Linked DNA regions of Homo sapiens: region 2 is linked to region 1. The links are contacts of gene promoters, found by promoter capture Hi-C in blood cells and fetal thymus (Javierre and others, 2016). All regions are on one chromosome and are shown on one strand. Each heading gives the region's core, a stretch centred on a gene start or on the middle of the fragment in contact. The rest is flanking DNA. Distances are from core to core; before and after follow the strand shown.

Region 1 (5,878 bases), core at 1,869-4,368:
AGGATGCCCTACTCTGTAATGGAATGTAAGAGCTTTCAATAAACTATCTCTTCTCACTTCACTCTGCAACTCACCTTGAATTCCTTCCTGCGTGAGATCCAAGAATCCCCTCTTTACATCTGGATCGAGACCCCTTTTTCTGGTAACAATATGAGTTCTGCACAGGCCAAAGTGGCCAGTTAAATGGGTTTGTAAGAAGTGTCACAGTGCCTGCTTATTTCAACCCTTTAATGGTGGCATTAATCTCCAAAGCTCTTTCAGAGATTCAGTATTTCTGGATAAGAAGGGGAAGTTCTGGGACTTTCACTAAACTTCTCCTACCATCATGGTCCTCATCTCATACGTAAGAGAGCCAGTGAGGGGATTTAGCTAGTGTATGTTTGTTTCAATTATACAACCAGGAACTGAAAAACTAACTATAGGGAGAATAGTGTACCAACTGGGCCCCCTGTGAGTCGGTCTCATGTTAGAACCTCTATCAAGTGAAGAACTGACCATCACAAGTTTCTGCTTTGACTGGTGAGCCACAGTGCCATTTTTGGTTCCCAGGAATTTATGTCAATTGAGGCAATCCCTGAGACATCTAGGTTACTTCCTTTTCATTAGTTGATGGCTGCAGGACACTTCAGAAAAGGTGTGGAAGAGGGTTTATGGTATTCTTTCTCACTAGCACAGATTCTTTCTCAAGGGGCCTTGGCTTCTCCCTTCAATCAAGATGCTCTAGGTCTGACCCAACTTAGGTCTGGAAACTCGGAGAGAGCCCATGATCTCCACTGTGGTGATTCAAGTTAGGTACTTCGGTGACCAGACCTAGAGGTTTTCCTGTTGTGTGGATTAAAGACTACTCTAGCGACTGTCCATCTCTTCATTCTAAGGAACACTGTGAGCAATTCACCACTGCCAAAAATCTCTGTGGACCAAGGCATTCTGATTATCGGTGTGTTCCTTCTGCTGTTTATGGCTGACATGCCCACCTTGTCTTAGCCTGCTACTCTGAAATATTATCGTCCCGCTGAAATCAGAGGTCTAGTCTAGCAATCCACATGGTCATATGTAGGCTACAGACCATGGAACTTTTCAGGTGTTCCACTCACTCAATAATGCATTTCTCATTACTTAGCGAAGGGTCTTCCTGTGGAATGTAGCTGCAGGGGGTGGGTGAATGTGGGAGTCACACATGATTGGATCTGGTGGCTGTCCAGTCTAATGGGATAAGATTAAAACTGAGGGGTCAGGACAGGTAAGCCAGGGTGATCAGGAAGTGTGAAGGTCAGGGAAAAACACCCAGAACAACCCTGCAAAGTAGGGACTACGGTCACCCCTTTCACAGAAAGGCTTAGGAATTTATCCAAAGTCAAACCACTGTTAAATGGTGGAGCCAAGATTCAGACCCAGCAATTGTAGGAATCTGTGGGAAGCTGGTGAGGTTGTATCCACGAGCTCCTGGGGAGCCTGGGCAAAGAATACCATCCTGGGGCCCCAGAGCGCTTGAAAGCCCTTTTCCTCCCTGTGGCAGATCCTCTCTCTCAGCCTGCTTCCAAGACCTGGGAACAGGGTGGACCCACGGCCCCACACTTGCCATCCCAGGAAGCTGCAGTGTGCAGAGGGCAGGCCCGGCTGGGCCCTCCTGCTGAACGCAGTGCCCTAAGCACAGGTGTACGGTCATTGCATGAGTGGATTTCAAACTATTTTTAACCCCTGCAGGAGCAGGCTAGAGCGTTTTCTATGGACACTGAAGGGTTAATCCAGAGCTCAGGCTGCCACTCTGGGGAAGTGGTCAGCACTTACAGGAATGGTCCCTCCAACATCTGAGCGAGGAAGGGGCACAGAGCACAGTTGTGCCTTCCTTGGGCCTGGGCAAGCTCTGTGCTTCACAGAGCAAGCCTGTGTCAGATCCTTCAGCAGAGACCACAGCCAGGGGTGGTGAAGCCGATGAGGAAGTGAGGGCCAACCACACTGCTCAGGCTGTTCCTCACAGGAGGCTGGGGCAGGCTGAGCCACGCAAGACCACAGCTCTCAGCCCTGTGCTATTTCCAGGGCACACTTACAGATCCTGAATGGTAGAGAACGTCCTGGATAAAACAATGACAGCAAGACAGCCATGTACACAGATATCTTGTGGGAAACCCTTTCACGGCCACTTTGAAACTGGGTTGGGAGAAGGACGTGATGCTGGGTCAGGCATCCATTGGGGACCATGGACATTTTTGGAGAGTTTGGGCCAATGTTCTTGTGTAATTTGTCAGAAGGAACACCTACTTCTTCATTCTTGTGAAGAAGAACCCATAAACTGGCCCCCGTGTTCAGAGGCTCCAGTCGAGCGAGTTGAGGGGACAGCTGGACTTCTCCTTCCTCAGGCTGGCTGGAGGCTTCAGCAAGGGGGCACACCGTCCACACGCCTCTGTAAAACAGCGTTCGAACGGGACATCTCTAAGGCATCGTCCAACTCTGAGAGTCTGTGACCTTCCACCCTGGGGTGGAGGGAAAGGCCTTGGGATACAGTCCACACATCACGTTTTCCCCTAAAAGTACCACCCGTTTTAGTCCCTGCAGACACTGGCCTCAGCAGCTTCTCTGAGGCAGCCCCGTTGAGCCCAGGGCTGACCACAGACAAGCACTACTGTCCACAGAACTTCACGCCCAGTGGGGCCAGACTTGGAGGATGGCAGAGGAGAGAAGCTCCAGGGGCCTCTCCATTAGAAACCAACTTGCAGGCCACTTAATCTCCTATGCTCAGCCTGTACTTGGAAGCTGCTTGTTCTTGGCTGCACATTTGCTTTGTTTGAATCAATTAATCCAAGTCTCTCTCCTCTCCCCACCCCCAACCTTGCCTTTAGGGTGACATCAATATTCATGTAATAAAGAAATCGCACAAAAAGCTGACTCCCCACTTCCTGCCCTACAGGCCCTTTTTTCTTCCTCAGCCCATGTGCAATCCTGGCTCCCAGCAAGTCCCCGGGGCTGCTTGGTCAATGCAGCCCTGTGTGCAGGCCTGGCAGCCCTGCCACCCCCGCCTTCGGCTCCCATTGGCTGCCACGGCCTGCAGTGGGCTGCACCAGGGTTCATCCATCCTCCCTGGGCAGAGGGAATAAGAGGCTGCCTCTGCCCACCAGTCCTGCCGCCCAGGACCCGCAGCAGAGACGACGCCTGCAGCAAGGAGACCAGGAAGGGGTGAGACAAGGAAGAGGTGAGAAAGAGCCAGGCCAAGAGGACGCTCAGGAAGAAATGGTTCTTTTCTTTTGGGTGGAACGGAATGGAGGGGTAGAAACTAAGTGGTAGCTTAAAAAGCCCCTTTAGGACAATTGGCAGCATTTCAGAAGTGTCAATAGGATGATGTGTTTTAATCTCCACATTACTGCTGCTTTGTGGACACCTGACTGCATCAGCCCTAGACAGCTAGAGGTGTGTTTTGCCATAAATCAGAGAAACGTCAGGTTTCATGGCCCAGAAGTGATTGTTGACATTTTCCCAGCGGTACTACAAATACTGCCTCTTCTGTAACTATTTGAAGAGTAAAGATTTTGCTTCCCACTGGGGCTAAAAATGATGGAGAACCTAATGCTAGTTTAGTCCTATATCATAAATAAATGCTTCCCTTTTCTCCTTATATTTCTTCCACCGCCCTGGGTAAGTAACTCTTCAGTTTTCCAGTTTCCCTCAGTTTGAAGTGCCAGGGTCCCCACAGCCCCAGGACGCCACTCAGAAATTACGTAACAATTACAAATAAATTGGGTCAAAGAAATCGGGGTTTTGGTGGGTTTTAACTTTCCTCAGTCTCACAGTTTCTCAGGGAGGTCGAACCCCTTCTTTAGAGGGATCCTCACACGCTAGGTAACTTGTCTTTCTAAGGAGTTAAAGTTCAAAAGTTCTCTTGTTCTCAATATTAAAAGATTAATGTAGGACATTCAAAGAATGTGAGAAAGAAACGGACATTTATTTCCATTTCTCTTAAAAGATAAACTATAAACCATCAACTATTTCTTAGGTCAAAGGGAAAAATTTAACAAGAATTTAATTGATTTGTAGTGTGGTTATGAAGAAAACCATATTTTCTAGTGGTTTCTATTAGTGTTCTAATATATGGGATACATGTTTTATGCCTTTCCTTTGTAATAATCCCATTAGTCACAATTCATAGAAAAACAATTTAACCTCCTTTTCCCCAAATCATCATGGACTTTGAGGAGCATCAGAATGATGTAAAAGTGTCTTGTTTTGTTTAAAAAAATACACACACATACAAACATGCATATATCAATAATTGAAAACTTGAGTGCAAAGAATAAGAAAGCATGAAATGTTAAAGATTTTAATCCATCTTAATTGTTCTATTTGTGAATTATCAAATTTTTAGGGACTCAAGAGCAAAATAAAGTACACTGATTATTAATAGAATGACTTTAGCAAAGATCTGGCCAGTATAAAAAAATCTTCAATCCTGTTTCCTTCGGAGGATCAGAAATAAATAAAATAATTCCAAATTATTTTTAAGATGTAAGTTATATATTCAACATGGGAATGATTTTTCAACACTATTTGATTTATTAATTTGTTTTTAATTATGACAGCGCAAACGTTCTTATTTAATGATTAGAACTCAAGGCCAAAAGCTGGTAAATTTCTCTGACTGCGCATCTGTTTTGTGAAACAACTGACAAGGCAACCTTTGTAAAATGCGCCTCATTCCCAGACTGACCAGATATTTCCTTGGTTCGTAGGCTGTGGCGTAAGGTACTTGCTGTGAGGGAGGTAGGGGGGCTCTTACTTTGACAGCTGCAGAGAAACACCTATTCCTGCCCCCACCCCCTCCCGCCGTCCCAGTCACTGCAGTGAATGAGCCACCCTTTCGGTACACTGGAGGTGGAATGCAGGCTCAGCAGCTCAGCTTTCTGCTGGATTCTGTCCCTCCCTGCGACAGAACCACACCCATTTGATCAGTTAAACTTAGGATACATTTTTTTTTCCTGGTAGATCAAATAACTTTCACTGTTATTCTTCAAAAAGATTGCGGCAATTCTACCATATTTATTTTTCCTGATGAATTTTACAGCTGTTTTTGTCATGTCACCCATCCAAAAAAATTCCATTGTTTTTATTAAAAATGATTTAAATTTACATATGAATTTAAAGGAAAAACTTCCTACATTTTATGTTCCTCAGAATCTCTTGGAAGGACCTACGTTTTTCTTCCTAAACTTAGTCTTAGATCACATGTTATTGCTATATGCATAGGATATTTTGCACTGTATTTTCTACTTCTTTACTGATAGAATATAGGAATGCTATTGATTTTTTGTCTTCTTATTTTGCTCCTAGTCACTGTCTCACTTTCAGATTGATTTTAACAGCTTGCAGTTGATGGTTTGCTCACCTGCACTCTACCACCTCATCTTGGAGCCTTGCAGGAACAGAGAGGGACCCTGTGGGGATTAATTCAGGGGAAATTAATCCCTGAATTCCCTTGCTGCTCTGCCTCTGTATTTTTGCCAGTTTCCCTGTTGGCCCAACCCAGCCAGAATTCAGAGGGCATGGGAATATATCCCCGTGGCCCACACGGACAGAGAAGGCAGGCCCACAGCTGTCTAAGAGGCCGGTGGAAGGATTATGATAAAAGTGCAAATTCCCAGAATGCCCCTCCAGGCCATGCCTGCTGCTCTGAGCTTGAAAAGAGTGCCAAGGCCATTCCATCCCCCTTGTCTGGGTTGAGGTCTGTATTGATAACATATGAAATGTTTTAGGATGAGGTATAGATGAGAAGGCAACTTTCCTTTGCGAGCCCCTAGGATGTCTGAGCTGGAGAAGGCCATGGTGGCCCTCATCGACGTTTTCCACCAATATTCTGGAAGGGAGGGAGACAAGCACAAGCTGAAGAAATCCG
Region 2 (5,878 bases), core at 3,136-5,635, 52 kb after region 1:
GTATTTAATGAAAAATGTATTTTCACTCAATTTCAGACTCAGACTCCAACCCACTTCATCCCCAAACAAACCCACTCACACACATCTCATCGGCTTCCTGAGCACCCAGAAAAGGTGCCTTAGAAGGCCAAGGTTCCTAAGAGCCACACGAGCTGCTCCCACCTGGCAGGCAGCAGGGGCCCTGCACTCACCTGCACAGACACCACAGGGCAAAACCAAGGCCACAGTAGGGGTCGAGGCAGATGGCGATCTGCCGCGAGGGGTACAGCTCACACTGCAGCTTTATGGAGCGGCATAAGGCGCTTGTGGCCGCGTGCGACATCTTAAGAGTAAAATAAAGTTCAAAAAAAAAAAGTGAAATGAAATTCAGGAGGGGAGAGGGTGGATGGCAGTGTCCGCTGTTCACATGGCTAGACCATAGCTCCGAACTACCAAACATCATATTTATTTCCTTAAAAGACGGTTGGCTCAAATCCCCATATAACCTAAATAATACCCAAGAAATGGTACACTAAAAATCTTTGAAACAAAATTTCAGGGTAATGAATTTTTAAAATTTTTTTCTTTTTTTTTTTTTTGAGGCAGAGTCTTGCTCTGTCGCCCAGGCTGGAGTGCAATGGCACAATCTCGGCTCACTGCAACCTCTGCCTCCCGGGTTCAAGCAATTCTCCTGCCTCAGCCTCCTGAGTATCTGGGATTAGAGGCACCTGCCACCATGCCCAGCTAATTTTTTGTATTTTTAGTAGAGACGGGGTTTCACCACGTTGGCCAGGATGGTCTCCATCTCTTGATCTTGTGATCCACCCGCCTCGGCCTCCCGAAGTGCTGGGATTACAGGCGTGAGCCACCACGCCCCGCCTGAAAAATTTTAATTGAGCTATTGACTCCCAGCAAGGTAAGAGATTCTTCAAAGCCACCAGTTCCTGTAAGCTAGACAGTCATAAATCAGAAAGTTTAGACATAACCATAATGCATCAGAAAACGCATTACTCTCAGGCTAATCACATCTTAGCATTTATTGGTATTTAACACAAATCTTAAGAAGCAAAATTGTTGCTTTGTGCTTTGCATAAGAAGGACCTGTCAGTTTAAATCTGCATCTGACATCCTTTCTGTCCACTCCTCCTGATTTCTAGGGGCTGAAGCAAACAAGATTTCAGAGGACCTACCTTCACTCCCGCTAATATCCCAGTGGTTGACACGCTGAAGTCCAAGTATGCGAGGACATCGGGGGAGGGGGGCCTGAAAACGCTTGCTATCTTCTTTTTTGGGATGTCATCTGTTAAACAGGAGACACCAGCAACATTAGTGTTCCCACATGTATTCTGAACGCTCTGGGCTTTCACAGGCAAGAGGCGACACATGATTTGTCCTTGGGAGTCCTGCAGAGAGTGAGCTCAGACGGGAGTGGGGCCGTGACGATGCAGGCTGTGCGTGCTCAGGAAAGCGTATTTCATTCTTCATGGAAACGCTACCCGGTCCCACCAAGACCACACTGAGCCTGTGGGGATGGGGGACGAGGCAGGGCGAAGAGGGGAGGCATCACGTCACTGACCAGTAGGAAAGATTAGAGGACTAGGGATTTGCCAAAAGTCACAGAGCCTATGGCAAAGCCCAGATGAGCCGAGTCCCGACCACAGCAAGAATAGCTGTGGACGGGCTCTGGGTTCTGCGTGCTTCATCAAGTTCTCGTGGCCCCATGAGCCAGACACCACTGCCTCCCTGGGTGCAACTGGACACAGGCTCAGCAGGGCAGGCACCGCTCCCCTTGAGGCAAGCCCGTGAGGCTTTGGGGCCCTGGCCAGCTGTTTGGCTCTGAGCCTGCCCTCCCCTACACCAGCTGCCCTGGCCCAGCCCCATCCAGCCCAGGCTGAGACAGGTCCACGGCAGAGGGGAGCCAGGGGGGTTTCTGACCCTCACCCTGTTGGCCCTCAGCATTTCATGGGGCATGACAGCATTCACCAATGATGGGGACAGGGATGCTGGAGTGGCGGCATGCGGTGGGAGCTGTGTCCTCAAAGCGTTTGCAGAAAGCCTCAGAGAGCTGCCAGCCCCCATGCCAGTAGGAGGCGGGTGAGAGGGGCAAGGCTGTGCTCCACACCACTTGGGACTGGGTGCGGCTGCTGTGGGCTGAGTGGAGCGTGGGTTTACACATGGGACAGGGACCCCTACTCCCCACCAGGGCCCGGGGCACCCCCTGCTGTCAGCCAGGCTCCTGCCAGGACTGCTCTTGCCTCACGTGTGTTTTTGGACGGCAGCCAGGCCACACCACACCTACAACAAAGAAAGGAAAAGGGACTGGTCCTGGGCAGTGCGAGGACACGCACCTGTGTCTAGGATGGTGGGCCAGGTCCTGATGTCCACGGCAGCAGCAGCCTCCTTGGACCTGAGCAGCCGTGTGACAGCCTGCGTGGTGAGGACGCATGCAGACTTGCTGACCTGCATGGCGAGGGGCCAAGGGTGGGTGGGCGGGGCCTCTCAAGCTGCCCAGAAAAGGGGGCAGCGGAGGGCAGCCTTGCAGCCTCCCACTCACAGACTCTGACCCGCGGGCCAGGTAGGCGCACCTCCACGATCATCTTGACGGTGGGCAGTGTGGTGCCGAGGTTCTGAGGGTGCGGGGGCCGCACGGTGACAGGCACGCAGCCACAGTACAAGCAGCCATAGAACGCGGCAATGAGGTCCACCCCTGTGGAGACAAGGACTGGCTGTGAGGAGGCCGGCCGCAAGAGGCTCCCACCAGCCTCTGTTCACTGTTCCTGCGAGAGAGGAGGGGAGGTGGTGCTGGGGGGGCATGGGTGACTCCTGGGTTTCCACAGGGGTAGCTGAGCTGAGGAGGCAGACACATGCAGAGAGGAGGGGCTGAGCTTAGTTTTGGAAGATGCTTCGGGGAGGGAGTGTCTAGGGGGCTGCTTAGGATAGGAGGCTGCTTACAAAGAGCTGCAGGTGGACAGCCCCACAGTGAGCCCACCTGGTGGGTAGACCAGAGCCACATGGTCCCCAACACTCAGTCTTCCCTTCTCCATCAGAGCCGCGGCCACTCTCTCAGCCCTTTTGTGCAGCTGGACACAGGTTGCAGTGCTTGTGACGGTGCCCTAGGAAAGCGATCTTTGAGCTCATCTGTATGCTGGTGCGTGCAGGTGGGCTGTTCGCAGATCTGCGTGCACACCACCTGCACGCCACTGCACACGACACCTTGTGATTAGCGTCCATGATAATGACAATGTGTCAGTCCTAGACGTACGGCTGGTGTCTTTTTTTTGGTAGAGATGGGGTTTCACCATGTTGGCCAGGCTGGTCTCGAACTCCTGACCTCAAGTGATCTGCCCGCCTCAGCCTCTCAAAGTGCTGGGATTACAGGCATAAGCCACCGCACATGGTCCACGACTGGTGTCTTTTCTCACCATCTGTACTCTCTCACTAGCAGTGAAGGGACAGGCATGCAAGTATCTCCTGTGTGGTCCCAGCTAAGAGGGAGAGATGCGGGCACTCCATTCACCCAGGGCAGAGCCAGAAACACGTGGGTAAAGAAGACCTTTCTGGCCTTTTCAATAAAATATTCCATACGACACCATTATAAATACATAATAAGCGATAAGCAAACATCCCTGAATTGTACTACTTTCCATGCCCACAGGTCACCTGCACTGAGCCTGGGCGTGTGTCATCTGCAACCGGCTTTCTCAGAGGCATCTGTGTGTCTCCTCTAGGACTGACTACACCAGCTCCTTCATTCACCCTGTCTCTCTGCTGAGGGGCACTGGGGCTATGTGACCAGTTCAAGGCAAACAGAAATACCTGGTAACCCTACCTCTCTGCTCAGGACACTCATCCTCCCTGATCCCCTGCCAGGCCTCGCAGCTTTTTTAGTCCTTCTTAAGAAGATAAAAAGTGCAATTCAGTCTAATAAATATAAAACTCCAGAGCAGACCAGTGTAACATCAAAACTCCCTGTTTCTCGATTGGTGGCTTCTACTGACAGAAGGCAGTGGAAGAGAGAGACCAGTGGACGCACTTATGTGCTGTGTCCAGGCACAAGGGCTGGGCAGATCCTGAGATTCCAAATCCCGGAAGCTTTGCCAGTCCATATGAGTCAGGGCCCCATCAGGACAGAACCTGAGATCTGGACTGGGACTCAAAGCCCGCAAGGTCTGGGATCCCACTGCATCCTTAGGGAAAACCCAGCGACCCCCAGCCTTATCTGCATCCCCTACCTGGGACCACCTGGCCCCCACCACACTGGCCTCCTTTCCTGCCTTGAGCCACTGGGCATCATTCTTCATAGCCCCTGCTACCCAGTTCCATTCAAAGCCCCCTCCCCAGCACTCCAGGTTACATCACTCCACTGTATTGATACTGAGGTTCACACCATAAGCTGATTTTACCTTGGTCAATGATAAATCACTGGCTGGTTTGTAGGCTTTAGAACTCAATCAATCATAAAATAAATGTTTACTGGGCATGGTTCTAGATGCTTCCAATACACCAGAAAAACAAAGTCTCTCTCCTACGGAACTTGTTTTCTAGCAGGAAAGACTGATTTTAAGCCTCCTGAGAGTAGGGGTCCTTTTAATCTTATTACTGTGCACTGTGCACATTGTAGGCATCATTAAGTATTTTTTTAATTCGAATGAGCAGCACCAAGAGCTAGAAGAGCATATTCTAAGCCACAGTGACCTACTCTTTACGACACCAAAGCTTAAGAGTTCTTACAGCTTGTATGGTGCGTGGGACAGGAAGCCTTGCAGGGTTTTAAGTTATTTAACTTTCTGTGTTTCCGCATTTCGCATTCCTGCCCACAACCTGAATATGAAGATTACAGCTTCTCCTTCTTGACATCCTGAATGTTCCTAGCACAGTGGAATGCACACAACAGGAACTTGAAACACATGAGAATTTCCAAATCAGCAGCAGGAGCAGGGCAGGAAGCAACATTTGTCATTTAAAAGCTGTAACCAAATGTAGAAATTCTAAATGGCTAATTTTTTACAAAATAAACATTTCCTTTTAGCTCACAAACTTAGGAATATTTACATGTATACTGTTTTTAATTTTAAAAACTTGAGCTGATAAAAATTTTCCTGCTAAACACAAAATCAATAGAAATACTATTGTGTGAAATGTGTGGAAAACAAGAAAGGAAAGGGCAGGCAGCGAGAACCGCACCAGACAAGGGGGCTGAGTCCACAGGCACCCTGCTCTCTACGCATGAGAACAACCAGGACGGGGGCTGAGTCCACAGGCACCCTGTTCTCTAAACATGAGAACAACCAGGACACTGGCACCATGAACTAGACAAGCAAAGGGCTCCACCGGCCCACAGGTGTTTCCAAGCCCCGTGGGCGTGACACTGCCTCACCTTGGCGTTCAGCAGCAAGAACAGCGGGTGGTCAGGAGTGGTGTGGGCACGCCACTGCAGCACGTCAGCCAGGAACAGGAACTGCACGAGAGGGCGACTTGCTCACTGGCGCCTCCGGGGCACAGACACCCGTCCACCCGTCCCCGGAACTGGCCTGTCACCTTCCGTGCCTGGTCGCTGTCCTCCAGGTGGGCGAGCTCTCTCCCGGAAGCCTGAGCGATTCTCTTCCCAGCAACCAGGTTCCCCACGATCATTGAGGCTGGTCCAACCTCTAGAAACGGGGGAACTCTGAATGAAAAGCTGGTGACTTCTCATATATAAACATCACGTGATTTTATTTACAATTTTTATTTTGAAAACATACTTGAATGAGGCATTTAACTCTTCTACTGAGATACAAATATTCAGAAAGCTAGCTACAAGGTTTATGCTAAGTGACAAAGAGAATTTCTCTCTTGAACATAAACTACGCCTTATTGAGAAGTTTACTACACGACGCATCTCAGAGGATACGATTTGGCC

Evidence for each region. The method cuts DNA at HindIII sites, captures the fragments that hold promoters and counts their contacts. A CHiCAGO score of 5 or more calls a contact.
Region 2: a fragment that was not itself captured here is called in contact with the fragment with the promoter of S100B in region 1 in 2 of 17 cell types (naive CD8 T cells and naive CD4 T cells); the score reaches 5.7 in naive CD8 T cells.

The regions. Positions count from the first base shown.
Region 1 is chr21:46,602,322-46,608,199 of GRCh38, reverse strand. It overlaps S100B (S100 calcium binding protein B), which reads left to right and starts at 3,118. Exons shown (of 3, transcript NM_006272.3): 1 at 3,118-3,187; 2 at 5,784-5,878. The coding sequence starts at 5,785. RefSeq lists an enhancer at 1,579-2,080. The HindIII fragment of the contact is 9,714 bases long and covers 1-5,878 here.
Region 2 is chr21:46,551,383-46,557,260 of GRCh38, reverse strand. It overlaps DIP2A (disco interacting protein 2 homolog A), which reads right to left. Exons shown (of 38, transcript NM_015151.4): 24 at 5,518-5,627; 25 at 5,357-5,437; 26 at 2,969-3,092; 27 at 2,565-2,686; 28 at 2,328-2,439; 29 at 1,170-1,279; 30 at 192-322. Among named protein-coding and RNA genes, the nearest start is that of S100B, 51 kb to the left of the region's middle. The HindIII fragment of the contact is 624 bases long and covers 4,074-4,697 here.